3 separate regions of the Homo sapiens genome follow, and regions 1 and 2 are each linked to region 3. The links are contacts of gene promoters, found by promoter capture Hi-C in human tissues and cell types (Jung and others, 2019). All regions are on one chromosome and are shown on one strand. Each heading gives the region's core, a stretch centred on a gene start or on the middle of the fragment in contact. The rest is flanking DNA. Distances are from core to core; before and after follow the strand shown. Region 1 overlaps COTL1 (coactosin like F-actin binding protein 1). Region 2 overlaps USP10 (ubiquitin specific peptidase 10). Region 3 holds the start of WFDC1 (WAP four-disulfide core domain 1).

Region 1 (4,302 bases), core at 601-3,100, 310 kb after region 3:
CAGACAAAGCAACAGCCTCTGCTGGCAAGTTCAAAACGCCTTCCTCCACCAGCCCTTCTCTCTTTTTCCGACTCACCACAAGCCAGAAGGGCATATGATGCAGCTGATGATAACTGTGTGCAAACTAAGAGCTTAAAGGCTCAGAATGAGCTACAGGCCTCCTTCAGCTTGCTCAGCCCTACTCCAGGAGGGAAGGAATCTCGTTCCCTAGCACATCCAAAGCACCCAGACGATGCCCCACATGTACTCAATACATACTTCCCGAATAAATGAAGGGCATCTACATGGCATCTTTGACTTCTCAGAGGCTTTTCAGTTCCAAATTTGCAGCTGCGTTTCAGTTCAATGGGGGTGGGGGGGGTGCCATTTTATAAGAGTAAAACCAAGCAGATGGGCACAGCAGCTCACACCTGTAATCCCAACACTTTGGGAGGCCGAGGCAGGAGGATTGCTTGAGCCCAGGAGGTTGAGGCTGCAGTGAACTATGATCGCACCACTGCACTCCAGCCTGGGCCACAGTGAGACTCTGTCTCAAAAAACTTTTTTTCTTTTAATTAAAAAAAAAAAAGAATAAAACCAATTCTTTGTCAGGATTTTTAAAGTGTGACTTCCACCCCCAGAGAGCAGGAATGAATAGACAGGCAGGAACGAATGGATATGGACAGACATAACAACTGATTTGTTTTGACAAATTTGTGGTTTAATAAAAGCACATGTGGCCAGACGCAGTGGCTCATGCCTGTAATCCCAGCACTTTGGGAGGCCAAGGCGAGCAGATCACTTGAGCTCAGGAATTCGAGACCAGCCTGGCCAACCCGGCAAAACCCTGTCTCTACTAAAAATACAAAAATTAGCCATTCATGGTGGTGCACACCTGTAATCCCAGCTACTCGGGAGGCTGACGTAGGAGAATTGCTTGAGTCCAGGAGGCAGAGGTTGCAGTAAGCTGAGATCATGCCACTGCACTCCAGCCTGGGCGACAGAGACTTCATCTCAAAAAAAAAAAAAAGTGCATGGAAAGGGAAGGCCAAAAAGGCAGTGTTGCTGGAGTCAGCGATGCCAGAGTCAGTGATGCCTGCGTAACAAGGAAGCTGCTTCTCCACCTTTCACATGCACCAAGAACGGTAGCCCAGAGGGACGCAGCTGGCTTGAAACCTCAGCGGCATGAGAGCCTGGAGACCAGGGTTCAGGTCCTGGCTCTGCCCCTTTCCTCCCATGTAACAATGGCCCAGCGACTTCCCCTCTCTGCCCCCCAGTTCCCCGGAGGCCTCTCCATCTCTGCCTGGGAGCCCCTGGTTGGTGGGGGCAGACTCGCAGCCAGTTTTCCTTCCCCGTGGACTTTAACAACACTCCAGCCCGCAAGCCTGCGCACACCAGCCCCCACGGGGACAGCTGACTCACTTTACTCTTCTACGGATTCACTTATTCATTACCCCATGCAACATCCGAGGCAGAACCTCCCCTCTTCCCAAAGGACTGAGGCAACGAAGTGTGACTCAGCCAGGGCTCTGCGCCAGGCTCTGAGTGAACACACTGGAAACCCGGCCGTGGGTACAACACGGCGTCACAGCTCTGCCGTAAACACAGGGGGACCCACTGAGAGCCCAGGGGACCAGCAAGCCTCCCCCTGGAGGTCTCCTCATCGGTGACACAGCACGTTGATCCTCATCAGCCAGCTGAGGGGGTGATGCCCTGGGAATCGGGCCTGGCACACAGGAAGTGTTGGGAAGCGCTAGGTGAGGATGATAAGGACAAGGCGGCCTTGGGACCAACGGTGACAATGGCAACAGACTATGAAGCGAATGGAGGCAGTGGGGGAGCCGGGAGTTCAGAGGGGAGAGGCAGGGCTGTGCTCAGGGAAAAGGGCTGCTCAGGGCCTGTGGGGTTGGCGCATCATGCCTGGGGACCCAGAAGAAGTGGCAGAATAAGACCCTGCCCAGCTGGGAATGAGCCACAGAAAGGGCCAAGGCAAAGTTCTAGGAGGACATGAAACAAAAGTGATCAGAATAAAATGCGCACTGCTCCAGGAAAACCCAGAGGCCTCACATGGCTCCCGGGGCCACTGCACCCTGGGCCCTGCCAGCTACCCACCTCCCCCCACTTTCTACCCGCCACTCCCCACCCACCTCCCTCCCTGATGGCCCCCACCCCATGCTCCCCACTCCCTACTACCCCCGCAACTCCCCTCTCCCTCCCGCTGCCCCACCACGGCCCAACCCCATACTCCCCAACCGCCTTCTCACCCATGCTCCCCTCCCACTCCCCACCCATGCTCCCTGCTCCACAGCCCTCACCCCATGGCCCCCACCTACACTACCCCCTACTCCCCAACCCCTGCGCTCCCCATCCACACTCACCGGCCATAGCCCTCATGCCACGGTCCCCACCCCCTGCTCCCCACCCCACACTCACCCTCCACAGCCCTCACCCCCTGCTCTCCACCCTCACTCCCCACCCACGCTCCCCTCCCACGGCCCCCACCCCATGGCCCTACTAGGTTCCTGTCCTCCTGCCCACCCAGGAGCCTCATCCTCCTTTTTTCTTTATGCTTTTTCATCCTAAGATATTATTTACACAGCATGAACTGCACCCTGTGAAAGTGGACATTTCAGTGGGTTTCGGTCCATTCACAAGGTTGTGCATGGTGATGCACCCCACTGAGCTCTCCCAGCACGAGTGCCCAGCAGACCGTGAGTGCTCAGTTTATATGTGTTGGGGGGATGAGTGACCAAAGTCACCCAGGAAGAGAGTGTGGTGTTCCCAAGAATGGGCCACACAGCAGCCAGGTTTGGCCAAATCCAGAGAGCTGCAGGGTGGACACAGCCCTCTCTCTGTCCCTCTGTTAGGCAGGGGCCCAGAGGGGGCTGTGGCTGTAGGGGTCACACAGGGGCCGCCAGGAGCCTGGCTCTTTGCATCTCAAGCCAGGTTCTTTTCACCCCTCCCCCAGCTCCAGCTGACCCCTGGCCCGCCTGAAGCAGCAGCAGCTTTTATTTGCAAGCCATGAACAATACACTCCATTTTATAAGCAGCGTAGAATTCTAGCCAGAAACGGGGAGAAAAGTGCTTCCGGGTCAGAGCAGACCTCCAAAGGCGAGCCCTGCAGGCAAAAGTAGGGAAATCGGGATTTCCTGGGAAAGTCTCTCCAGGGCAGGAGGGAACACTCGGGTTCAGGAATTAAGGAGCATTGCTCCCCAGACACACGCACAGGCTTTCTGTGTCAACAACAATGGCAGAAATGGCCTCTAAACAACAGTGGCCTCTAAACACTTCCCACGGCCCCCCATGGCCTGGGCCTGGGCCTTAGGTCTGCCCCACGGTGTTCCACAGAAGAGCCTCCCGTGGTCTTCCCTTCTTGTTTCACAAAGATTTTACATTGCAAGCTGGGGTGCAGGGGGTGTCAGGAGTGGGGGCGAGAAGCACACACGCCAGGTAAGAATTGCAGCCTGGCCTGCGTACTGCCTCGGCTGTGAAATGGGATAACAACAGGGCCCGCGATGCTGGGTCACTGGGCATATTAAATGAAATCACAAGTGACTGCGGCAGGCAAAACAACGGCCCCTAAGACATCTATGTCCTAAACCCCAAAACTGTGAATATGTCCCTCACATGGCAAAAGGGCTTTGAGGGTGTGGTTAAGGTAAGGATCCTGAGATGGGAGATTCTCCTGGGTTATCTGGGTGACACCCACGTGATCACTGCAGTCCTTAAATGGGGAAGGGTGGGGAAGAGGGCCAGAACCAGAGAGCTGGCATCATGAGGACTCGACCTGCCAGTACTGGCTTTGAAGACAGAGGAAGTGGCCACAAGCCAAAGAATGCAGGCAGTCTCTGGAAGCACAAGAAGGCAAGAAAATGGATTCTCCCCTGGAGCCTCCAGGAGAAAGCAGCCCTGTCCACACCTGGATTTTAGTCCTGTGAGGCTCATGTCAGACTTTTGACTTGCAGAACTATAAGATGATGCATTTATGTTGTTTTAATTCACCAAGTTTGTGGTCATTTGTTACAGTGGCCATAGGAAAGTAACACAATGACCCTGGCTAATGCCTGGCCTAATAAAGGTCCACTGTTAACCATTGTTGTTATCAACTTATTTATTTATTGCTCGCAAGGAAGCTTACCTAAGTACCTAGAAGACAAAGTAAGAATAAGTGCATGAAGAAAAGCGTGATGACCATAAACTAAGTACAGAACTAAAAACAAGATCTATGGCAGGTTAATTTCAAAATGCACTCATGAAATAAAATATTAAATGCTGACGTGCCATGCCTGCCTTCAAAAACCAGCCTCTGGGGACCTGCCACTG
Region 2 (4,621 bases), core at 498-2,997, 440 kb after region 3:
CCACAGTAACAGGACCTCCTCCCCAGAGTTGTTGAGGAGCAGGATGTGTGCCTGGCACACCCTGAGTGCCCAGTCAGTGCCACCTGGTGTCACTGGTCCAGCCTTTCCAGCCTCTCCACCCTCAGTCAGCGCCACCTGGCATTACCGGCCCCGCCTCTCCACTTGGCTTGTCCTCAGCGTCATCTGTGTATTTTTCCCGATTGCTGGGGTTTTCTTCTGCATGTTGTGGGAGTGGCTGGGAGTTGAGTGAGTGTTCACACCCCGTGGTTGAATGTTGAGGAAGGGGACAGCCGGAAGATGGTGAGCAGGGTTCTAACAGCTCTCTGCCTTGTGAAGTGGATGGGTGAAGAGGTCCCTTCTCTGAATTGTGCGTCTTCCCAGCCTGCTGCAGTCTCTCGGGTCTGGAGGTTTCCTTCAGCATTCTCTCTTCCCCGAGCAGAACAGAATACTGGGAAGTGTGAAGAGAACATTGATATAATAGTGATGAAACTGTTTTGACTCAGAAAAAGATGATTTCTTGATGTTACAATAAATTTTGTGTAAAAATAGAGTGATTCAAAACACTTTTCATGCCTCAAAATAACACAGCTTTCTGTCACCAGGGGGCATCCTAGTGTCATTAACAGAAAAAGAGGGCATTCTATGTATCAGTTTCTAAACTGTCTTCTTTGACCACAGAGGGTTTTGAACGAGATGGAGGCTTCCTGAGACACACATGGCCGCTGTGTCCACTGCCCTTATAGACCCACCTCTCTGCTCCAGGTGCCTGCCAGCATCAATGCTGGTGTGTGGAATGGTCTTTGCCTTGCGGGTGCCAAGGCTAGTGTAGCCCATCTCAGCATACAGAATGCTTTCTTCTGGGTGTCAACGTGATGCGTACTAGGTTGCCCCCTGGTGGTGGAGATAAGTGCAGCTGTCAACTCCTGAAGGTGTTGGCTTCTTTTGAATTGCCCTGTGTTTTCCTGTTTGTCATAATTCTCTGGGAAGAGAACTTACTGCGTTACTAGCAGAGAGAAGCTTTTATTGCTGTGATTATTGAATTGGTGTGCTGAGATCTCATTGGAGAACTCAGCTGAGGAAGCCAATCAAGCAGCAGCTCTCATACAGTATTGGGCATGAGACTTACCTAGGAGCCTCTGAACTTTGCGGCCCTAGGGCCGTTCCTGCACTGGCCTTTGTACTGCAGTGAACAGACTTTGGGAAGTGCTGCACCAGAATGTCTTTTTGTTCTTTTGTTCTGCCCTCAGGTAGCAGTTTATCTCTCTGCTTACCTTACCCCTTTTCTTCCTAAACCTTTTTTTTTTTTTTGAGACAGAGTCTTGTGCTGTTGCCCAGGCTGGAGTGCAGTGGCACTATCTCGGCTCACTGCAAGCTCCGCCTCCCGGGTTCACGCCATTCTCCTGCCTCAGCCTCCTGAGTAGCTGGGACTACAGGCACCCACCACCATGCCCGGCTAATTTTTTGTATTTTTTAGTAGAGACAGGGTTTGTTTTTTTTTTGTTTTGTTTTGTTTTGGTTTTTGAGACAAAGTCTTGCTCTATTGCCCAGGCTGGAGTGCAGTGGCGCGATCTCGGCTCACTGCAACCTCCATCCCCCAGGTTCAAACGATTCTCCTGCCTTAGCCTCCCAAGTAGCTGGGATTACAGGTGCCTGCCACCACGCCCAGCTGATTTTTTGTATTTTTAGTAGAGATGGGGTTTCACCATGTTGGCCAGACTGGTCTAGAACTCCTGACCTCAAGTGATTCACCCACCTCAGCCTCCCTCATTGCTGGGATTACAGGCATGAGCCACCATGCCCTGCCCCTTCCTAAACTTTCTTACACCCAATGTGTCCATTGGAAGCATTTCCAACTCTTAAATAAATGTTATGGAATAGCTAGGAAGAAGAAAAATTTAAGTTATTTTTGAGATAACCTTTCAGCTTTTTACAAAGAAGTCAGACAGTTCCCATTCTGCTTTCTGTCTGCCAAACAAGGAATGTGACTTCTAGCTGTTAATGTAGTTAATTAAGGCACTGTGTTAAAAAGGGAGCTGCAGTCACCAGGCTTTTTGTTTATAGTGCGCTTTCCTCTGCTCTCCGACCATGGACCTGGTCCCAGCCTCTACTGGCTGTGTTGCAATGTAGTGATCGTGAATAAGAGGTGCAGTCAGGAAGAGTCATCTTCGCTAGTGCACAAACAAAAGTGTCTGTGGTCTGGATGGTCAGTCACTGACATCCTGTGGAAAGAAGGATGTATCATAAGCATTTCATTGTAGCTGATTTACATGTCCATTGGAGTTCATTTTTATTCCTTTTGGCTTCATTTTCGGATCTGTTTAATAGTGATAAATATTTGAAAGCATTTCTATTGTGTTTTTTTCGTTAAATGAAGATGATTTAGATTGCACTGACTCTTCATGTATGTTATTCTGCTAGAAGTAACGGCATGCAAAGTTGTATGGATTAAGAGTTTTAATGAATTGTTGCCTTAATTAAATGGTAAGCGTTGGTTTTAACATTTTGTTGAATTAAAATTTGTTTTCTGATTCCTTGTGCAGCTTCCTCCATACAGTGGAACAGTTCTGTGTGGCACACAGGCTGTGGATAAACTACCTGATGGTAAGCTAGTTCTCTCCTTATTTCCCTGAAGGGAATTTGGCCATACGTGCTGGGTGGGCAGGCTACCTGTAAACATTGTTTCCCATTTGAATAAACATTTCTTTGTAGCTTGAAGTTTTTGCTGTAAACTGTAATGTATTTAATTGCTGAATCACTTTGACTAGTGAATTGGTTTTAAAGCGTATCCTGTGCTTCGGAGTGCCAGCCATGTAAGATTTAGTTTAGGAAATGGTTGTTGAGTTCTTTTTTTCCTAACAGTTCTGAGTGCAACAGGTATGTTACTCTTCATCAGCACATGCTGGAGTTGAAGCGAACTTTGGGTCTTGTTGCTAAGCAGCCTGCTGGCTCCAGCGCCAGCTAGCTTCTGAGCCTGTGTTCTTTGTAAACTAAGGGGCAGCTGGCATCTGTTGTTCTTGCAGTTCACATTCATGTCCTGGTCTGTCGCTGACTCTTGGGAACTCAGGTCAACTCTTCACCTCCTGGTCTGTTACTTTTTTGGGTCTCCATCACAGGCACTAAGCTGATTGCCAGAGATGGTGCTTATGGAGATGCAATGATTTTGTATTGCTTAAGTACCCAGCGTTGGAATACCAACAAGGTTGTTTAATTATTGATTGCAGGCTGCCCTTGCACAATTCAAACTTGTCGAGATCATTTTTCAATCTGAATCACTTTAAAGGCCCTTACTGGCCTCCAGGAAACTGATGCCAAACTTTTTCTTTGAGAGTTAGAGGTTTGGATTCCCTGTTCAGTTAGCATGGTCAGACTTATGAAAGGGGTTTTAATTACAATTTAGGCTTCAATAGAAGCCTTGAAAAGACTAACCAAACGTTTTATCTCCAGTAACATCAGGGAGTGATTATATCTAAAATTTTAGATTTATAAGAAATGTGGGAGACCATAAGGGAAAGAGCAGATCTAACAATAGCTTAGGACAAGTAATAAAATGAATGAAGCTTGAGGGACCGGGAAGCCGGGCTGCTCAGCCTCCTGAGCCACCTTTTAATTGGCTGATGTCAACCTCTCAGACATCTGAGTCAGTGGGACTTCCTCTGTCACTGTGTGCTTTGCACGTGGTGAGCATGCTGCTCATGTTGAACCAGTGCTTACAAATGCCCCATGATGTTCCCATGCACATCACTTCTTTGAGTTCACCCTCCTCCCTGTGCAGTGGGCACCACCAGCTCCCCCAGCCTCTGGAGTTCTGCTTCCCCCTCCCTCCTTCCAGCCTGCCTGCCCTTTTCAGTGACTGCTTCTTGGCCCTTTTTCTCCATTCTTTACTCTGTTCCCTCTAAGTCCTGCCTTTTTTCTGCCAAAAACACGACTGGAATCTTGCCACCAGTTTGCACAGTTAGTGACAGGCCTGCTTTTCTCTGCAGCCTTTCTGGGTATCTTGTGTTTCCATGACATTAGTTTCTCTTCCAGTGCCTGTTCGACTGTACAGAGCCTGTGGGCACTGTCATGGACCTGCCTCTCTTTCCAGCCTGCTCAGCTGCTGATGGCAGGATCCATTTCTCTGTGTCTGTCACTGCGCCTGTAGTATCTGGAATGTTGTAAGCCCTCAGTACATTTGTTGGATGAATGGTTTAGGATGCTTTATTCTGCTCCCTCCCACTACCTCCAGCTGCAGCAAGCCCTTTGCAGAGGCACCTCATCGTGGCTTCCCTTTTAGATCTCGGCCTTTTCTATTTTTGTGTTTTTTAATTTTTTTATATTTTAATTTTTGTAGGTACATAATAGGTGTATATATGTATGGGGTACATGAGATATTTTCATACAGGCATACAACAAGTAATAATCACATCAAGGTGAATGGTTGTCCTTCACCTCAAGCACTGCCTGTTTTAGATGTTCCTAAAGCTTGAGATACCACTCCTTCACCCTGCCCTTAGCAATTCAGTGATCCATCAAGTTCCACTGACCTCTCTAGTTTCTGATAGAAGTTGATCACTGTTTCCTGCATCCAGAAGAATCCTTTTTCTAAAGCTATTCACAGCTTTCTCTCCCCTCCCTCCATGTT
Region 3 (4,146 bases), core at 558-3,057:
GTACAGTGGCGCCATCACAGCTCACTGCAGCCTCAACCTCCCACGCTTAGGTGATCCTCCCATCTCAGTCTCCCAATTAGCTGGGACTACAGGTGTGCATCAGCACGCCGGGCTACTTTTTTTATTTTGTATTTTTTGTAGAGATGAGGTCTCACTATGTTGCCCAGACTGGTCTTGAACTCCTGGGCTCAAGGCATCCTCTGCCTCCCTAAGTGCTAGGATTACAAGTGTGAGCCACCGTACCCGACCTACACAGACTATATGTGTTTGCCACTATTGTCATTCACTAAAAGGCCAAGAGGGGTTGATGATACCTGCCCAGGGCATTCTGAAGGCTGTGCTGGCCAGGAGGTGGGGGGTGAGGGTCCCCAGGGAGGGAGGAACCAATCTTTCTGGAGCACTCACTCTGTGCAAGTGCTGGGCACAGCTGGCACCCTCTCCTGTAGCCCCACATCGATCTCAAGAGGCAGAGACTTTCACATGCCCATTTCACAGATGAGAGAACTGAGGACCATGAGCAAGAGGCTTTCCAGCATCTCGCAGAGGCTGAACTGGGATCAGGCAGGTGCGTCAAGCCTAGTGCTTGGGTCCCTTCTGCTTCGCCTAGGGGGGTGCCACAGGGTCTGACCTACCTGGGTTCCAGCCTCCTCTCTGCTGCTGTTGCATGACCTCAGGCAGCCCCCTCTGTTTCCTCATCTGTAAAGCGGGCATCAAAACAGTGTCTGTTTTGGGGCCGGGTGTGGTGGCTCACACACCTGTAATACCAGCACTTTGGGAGGCTGAGGCGGGCAGATCACTTAAGGTCAGGAGTTTGAGACCAGCCTGGCCAGCATGGTGAAACCCAGTCTCCACTAAAAATACAAAAATTAGCCAGGCATGGTGGCACATGCCTGTTATCCCAGCTACTTGGAAGGCCGAGACAGGAGAATCGCTTGAACCCGGGAGGCAGAGGTTGTAGTGATCTGTGATCACACCACTGCACTCCAGCGTGGGTGACAGAGCAAGACCCGTCTCGAAAAACAAAACAAAACAAAAAACCAGTATCTGTCTTGGAAGTGCTGAGAACAGACAAGGGAATATGAAGTTTGTGAAATGTTGAGCCCGCTGTGCTACATTCCTGTAAAACACACACGTGCACATGCACACCCACGTGCACACACGCATACACATAAATGCACATGTGCAGATACACCGGCTGACAGTGACAGCACACTTATGTGTGTGAAATGCTTTATGTGCTCAATTTCTTTTAAATCTCACAGGAAACACACGCTATGAGGAACTACCCACATGCCCACATCAGGCAGGAGGACCCCGGCGGGTGCAAGGGTGGAAGTCGTCTCTTCATGGCTGCACCCTTGGCCAGTGCCAGTCCAGCAGCCTCTTTCAAAGAAGCTTTTATAGGCAGATAGTTTGTCAGCCCAGCTCGAAATGTGAACAAGGTAGCAGCCGAGCCCCCACCCATCCGGCTGCACTCCCCTGCATGTCCAGCCCCGAGCCCTGTGTCAAGCACACCTCCTTGGGAGGAGACCGCCCCAGCCTGCAAGGAAGTGCTCATTATGGAGAGTGGAGAGTGACAGGCCACTCCCGGCCACGTCTCCAAGCAAGCCGGTGCCCCCTCCTCCTGCTGCCACCGCCCACTGAGCTGCCTGGGCTGCAGACGCCCTGGTTGGAGCGTCTGGGGCCAGATGTTATAGGGCAAGCTAAAAATAACCGGGCAGGCCAGCCACCATCGAGGAAGGGGCATGTGCTGGACGCGGACACATGATCCGAGGGACCCTGCTGGGTGGAACTAAGAAAGTCCAGCAGACTGTGCACGCTCCTGTCCCCACTCACAGGCCCACGCAGCGAGGGGGGCCCCTCTTCTGTGTGCGTCTGGAAGGTCGCTGCCCAGGGAGGAAATGCCTTTAACCGGCGTGGGGCCGGGCAGCTGCAGGAGGCAGATCATCCGGGCTCTGTGCCTCTTGCTACTTCTCCTCCACGCCGGCTCTGCCAAGAATATCTGGAAACGGGCATTGCCTGCGAGGCTGGCCGAGAAATCCCGTGTAAGTGCCTGGGATGGGGAGGCTGGGGCAGCCTGTGTGGGTGGGAGTCAGCCTTGAGGAGAGGCGATCCCTAGACACTGCCTTCTCCTGTAAGTGCTCCCCCAAAACGTGGCAAGGCAGGCGTCTTCCTATCCGTGTGTGTCTGAGTTGTGTGGTGGGCAGATGGGGCTCACCCCCAAAAAAGGACCCTTATCTGTGAATCAAGAGGCAAAAGACACATCACAAATGTGCCAAAGAATCGTGCCTTACTTTTGCCTTGTTACAAAAGTATGCTTGCTCCTGAAAGACAGCATCTCATTTCGGAACCCCAGGATTTAAACGGAGCATTCCGTCTCCCTGATCAGTACCAAATGTTTGTGAAATACACTTATGCATTCATGTGGTTGTTTATTCATTCAGCAAACAGAATGAATACACTCTGTTAAACAGAATTTAGCAGAAACCGCTCTGGGGAAGGCACTCTGTGGGGTCCTGTGGATACAAGATAAAGGAGGTACCAGCCCCCATCCTCAAGGGTGGCGTGGCCGAGGTGCAGAGGCAGTTGGGTGACAAACGATGGCAGTACAAAGAGAAGGCATGAGGCAGTGAGTGGCAAGAAACACATGCCCTGGGGCCAGATGTCTGGGTGTGAATCGGGCTCTGCTGCTCATTAGCTGCGTGGCTTCTCTCAGGCAAGCTGCTTGACGTCTCTGAACCCCAGCAATCTCATCTGCAAAAGACAGAGGGATGCATTTCTTCACACAACTATGTCTGGGTCGCCACTGTTTACCAGGTACTGTCCTAGGCTGTGGGGATACAGGCCTCACATCTCTGCCTGGGGAACTCAATGGGGGGCTGGGGGCAGCAAAGAATAAATGAGAGAGATCTCATTTATTAGTATGTGCAGATTGCAAGTGCTGAGGAAGCAATAAAGCAGGAAGGGAACTAGGAGAGAGAATGGGGTGGAGGAGGCTATCATTTTTGGTTCCTCCCACCCCCCAGAGATCACAGATCCGCAGGGACGGAGTGAGCCAGGACGATATCAGCACACAGAGGGCTCAAGAAGGTAATGCTGGCACCCACAGCACCTGTGTGAGGATTGAATGTCTCAGTATGTAGAACGTCTTTGCAACATAGCAAGCTGGCAGTGCATCTTGGCAGCTTTCAATCAAATAATTGTGACTTTGTTTGGTGTTGCCTAACAGGGTAGCATGTAGGTTCCTTGGGGTAGGGCAGGGTTCTGTTTCACTAATGTGTGCCCCTGGTGCCTGCCATTAAGTTGACGCCTGGTACATTCTTGTGGGTGAATTATGAGCGGCTGCAGTGGTAGCACGGGATGCGTGTGCAGCTCTTCCCCAGGAGAGTCAGACAGGGTTTTTAGGGTTGGGGACAGTGGACCTGTGGCTTTAAAGGATAAATAGGAGTTTGCCAGCTGGAGAAGAGGGAAGGGAGAATGATTAATGACCCCAGGCATAGTGGGGTGCCTGAAACTGTATTGAGACAAATCTGGGCCTCCAGGGCTCATATTCTCCATGTTCGGCACATGCTCGTGGCGGGAGACAGGAGGACTTCGAGAAGTGGAAAGAGTAGTAGAGTGACATGATGAGGCGCTTGGAGAAGGGAAAGCTCATGTGAGATGGTGTAGTCACCTAAGGCTTCCTGGAGGAGGTGGAGACCTTGACTGGATCTTGGGGAAGGATTAGGAATTAGGAGGAGGAAGGAAATTCCTGGAAGAAGGCTCAGCATGAGCCGAGGCTCACAGGCAGAAGTGGTGCATCTAAGAGCTGCTTGGGAGACCAGACCTGGCCAGAGGGGAGGCATTGAGGAGGGGTGAGAGACTCTTCTCAGATTTTATTGACTCCTCCATGCTCTTCTCTGGTGCAACAGGATGATTTAACCCTCAACTGTAGTTAGTAGCACTTTGGTTCTACAACCATAGAGAGATTGCCAATATGTCATCTGATTTTATCTCCACCATGTCCCAAGATGTCATAGGAGCCAGCACTGTGACATCCACATAGGAGGGTCAGGGTTGATATGCGCGGGGGATTTGGGGGAGTCTCTAAAACACAGGCCTGGGTGGGCTGCAGGAGCTGATTCACTTGTAGCCACCACTGGTCAG

What was found. The method cuts DNA at HindIII sites, captures the fragments that hold promoters and counts their contacts. A contact is called where the count stands out against the background at its distance.
Region 1: a contact is called between a fragment that was not itself captured here and the fragment with the promoter of WFDC1 in region 3, in 1 of the 25 tissues and cell types used here (bladder).
Region 2: a fragment that was not itself captured here is called in contact with the fragment with the promoter of WFDC1 in region 3 in 2 of the 25 tissues and cell types used here (hippocampus and spleen).

What each region holds. Positions count from the first base shown.
Region 1 is chr16:84,601,856-84,606,157 of GRCh38, forward strand. The region is part of intron 2 of COTL1 (coactosin like F-actin binding protein 1); the gene reads right to left. Among named protein-coding and RNA genes, the nearest start is that of COTL1, 14 kb to the right of the region's middle. RefSeq lists a silencer at 1,268-1,562 and enhancers at 1,454-1,573, 1,584-2,148, 1,614-1,823. The HindIII fragment of the contact is 8,893 bases long and covers 1-4,302 here.
Region 2 is chr16:84,737,769-84,742,389 of GRCh38, forward strand. It overlaps USP10 (ubiquitin specific peptidase 10), which reads left to right. Exons shown (of 14, transcript NM_005153.3): 3 at 2,541-2,601. Among named protein-coding and RNA genes, the nearest start is that of USP10, 40 kb to the left of the region's middle. RefSeq lists an enhancer at 924-973 and a silencer at 1,935-2,229. The HindIII fragment of the contact is 4,524 bases long and covers 1-4,009 here.
Region 3 is chr16:84,293,071-84,297,216 of GRCh38, forward strand. WFDC1 (WAP four-disulfide core domain 1) reads left to right here and starts at 1,808. Exons shown (of 7, transcript NM_021197.4): 1 at 1,808-2,045. The coding sequence starts at 1,902. It overlaps LOC124903734, which reads left to right. Exons shown (of 6, transcript XM_047435022.1): 5 at 447-565; 6 at 1,263-1,768. The coding sequence ends at 1,768. The HindIII fragment of the contact is 18,601 bases long and covers 1-4,146 here.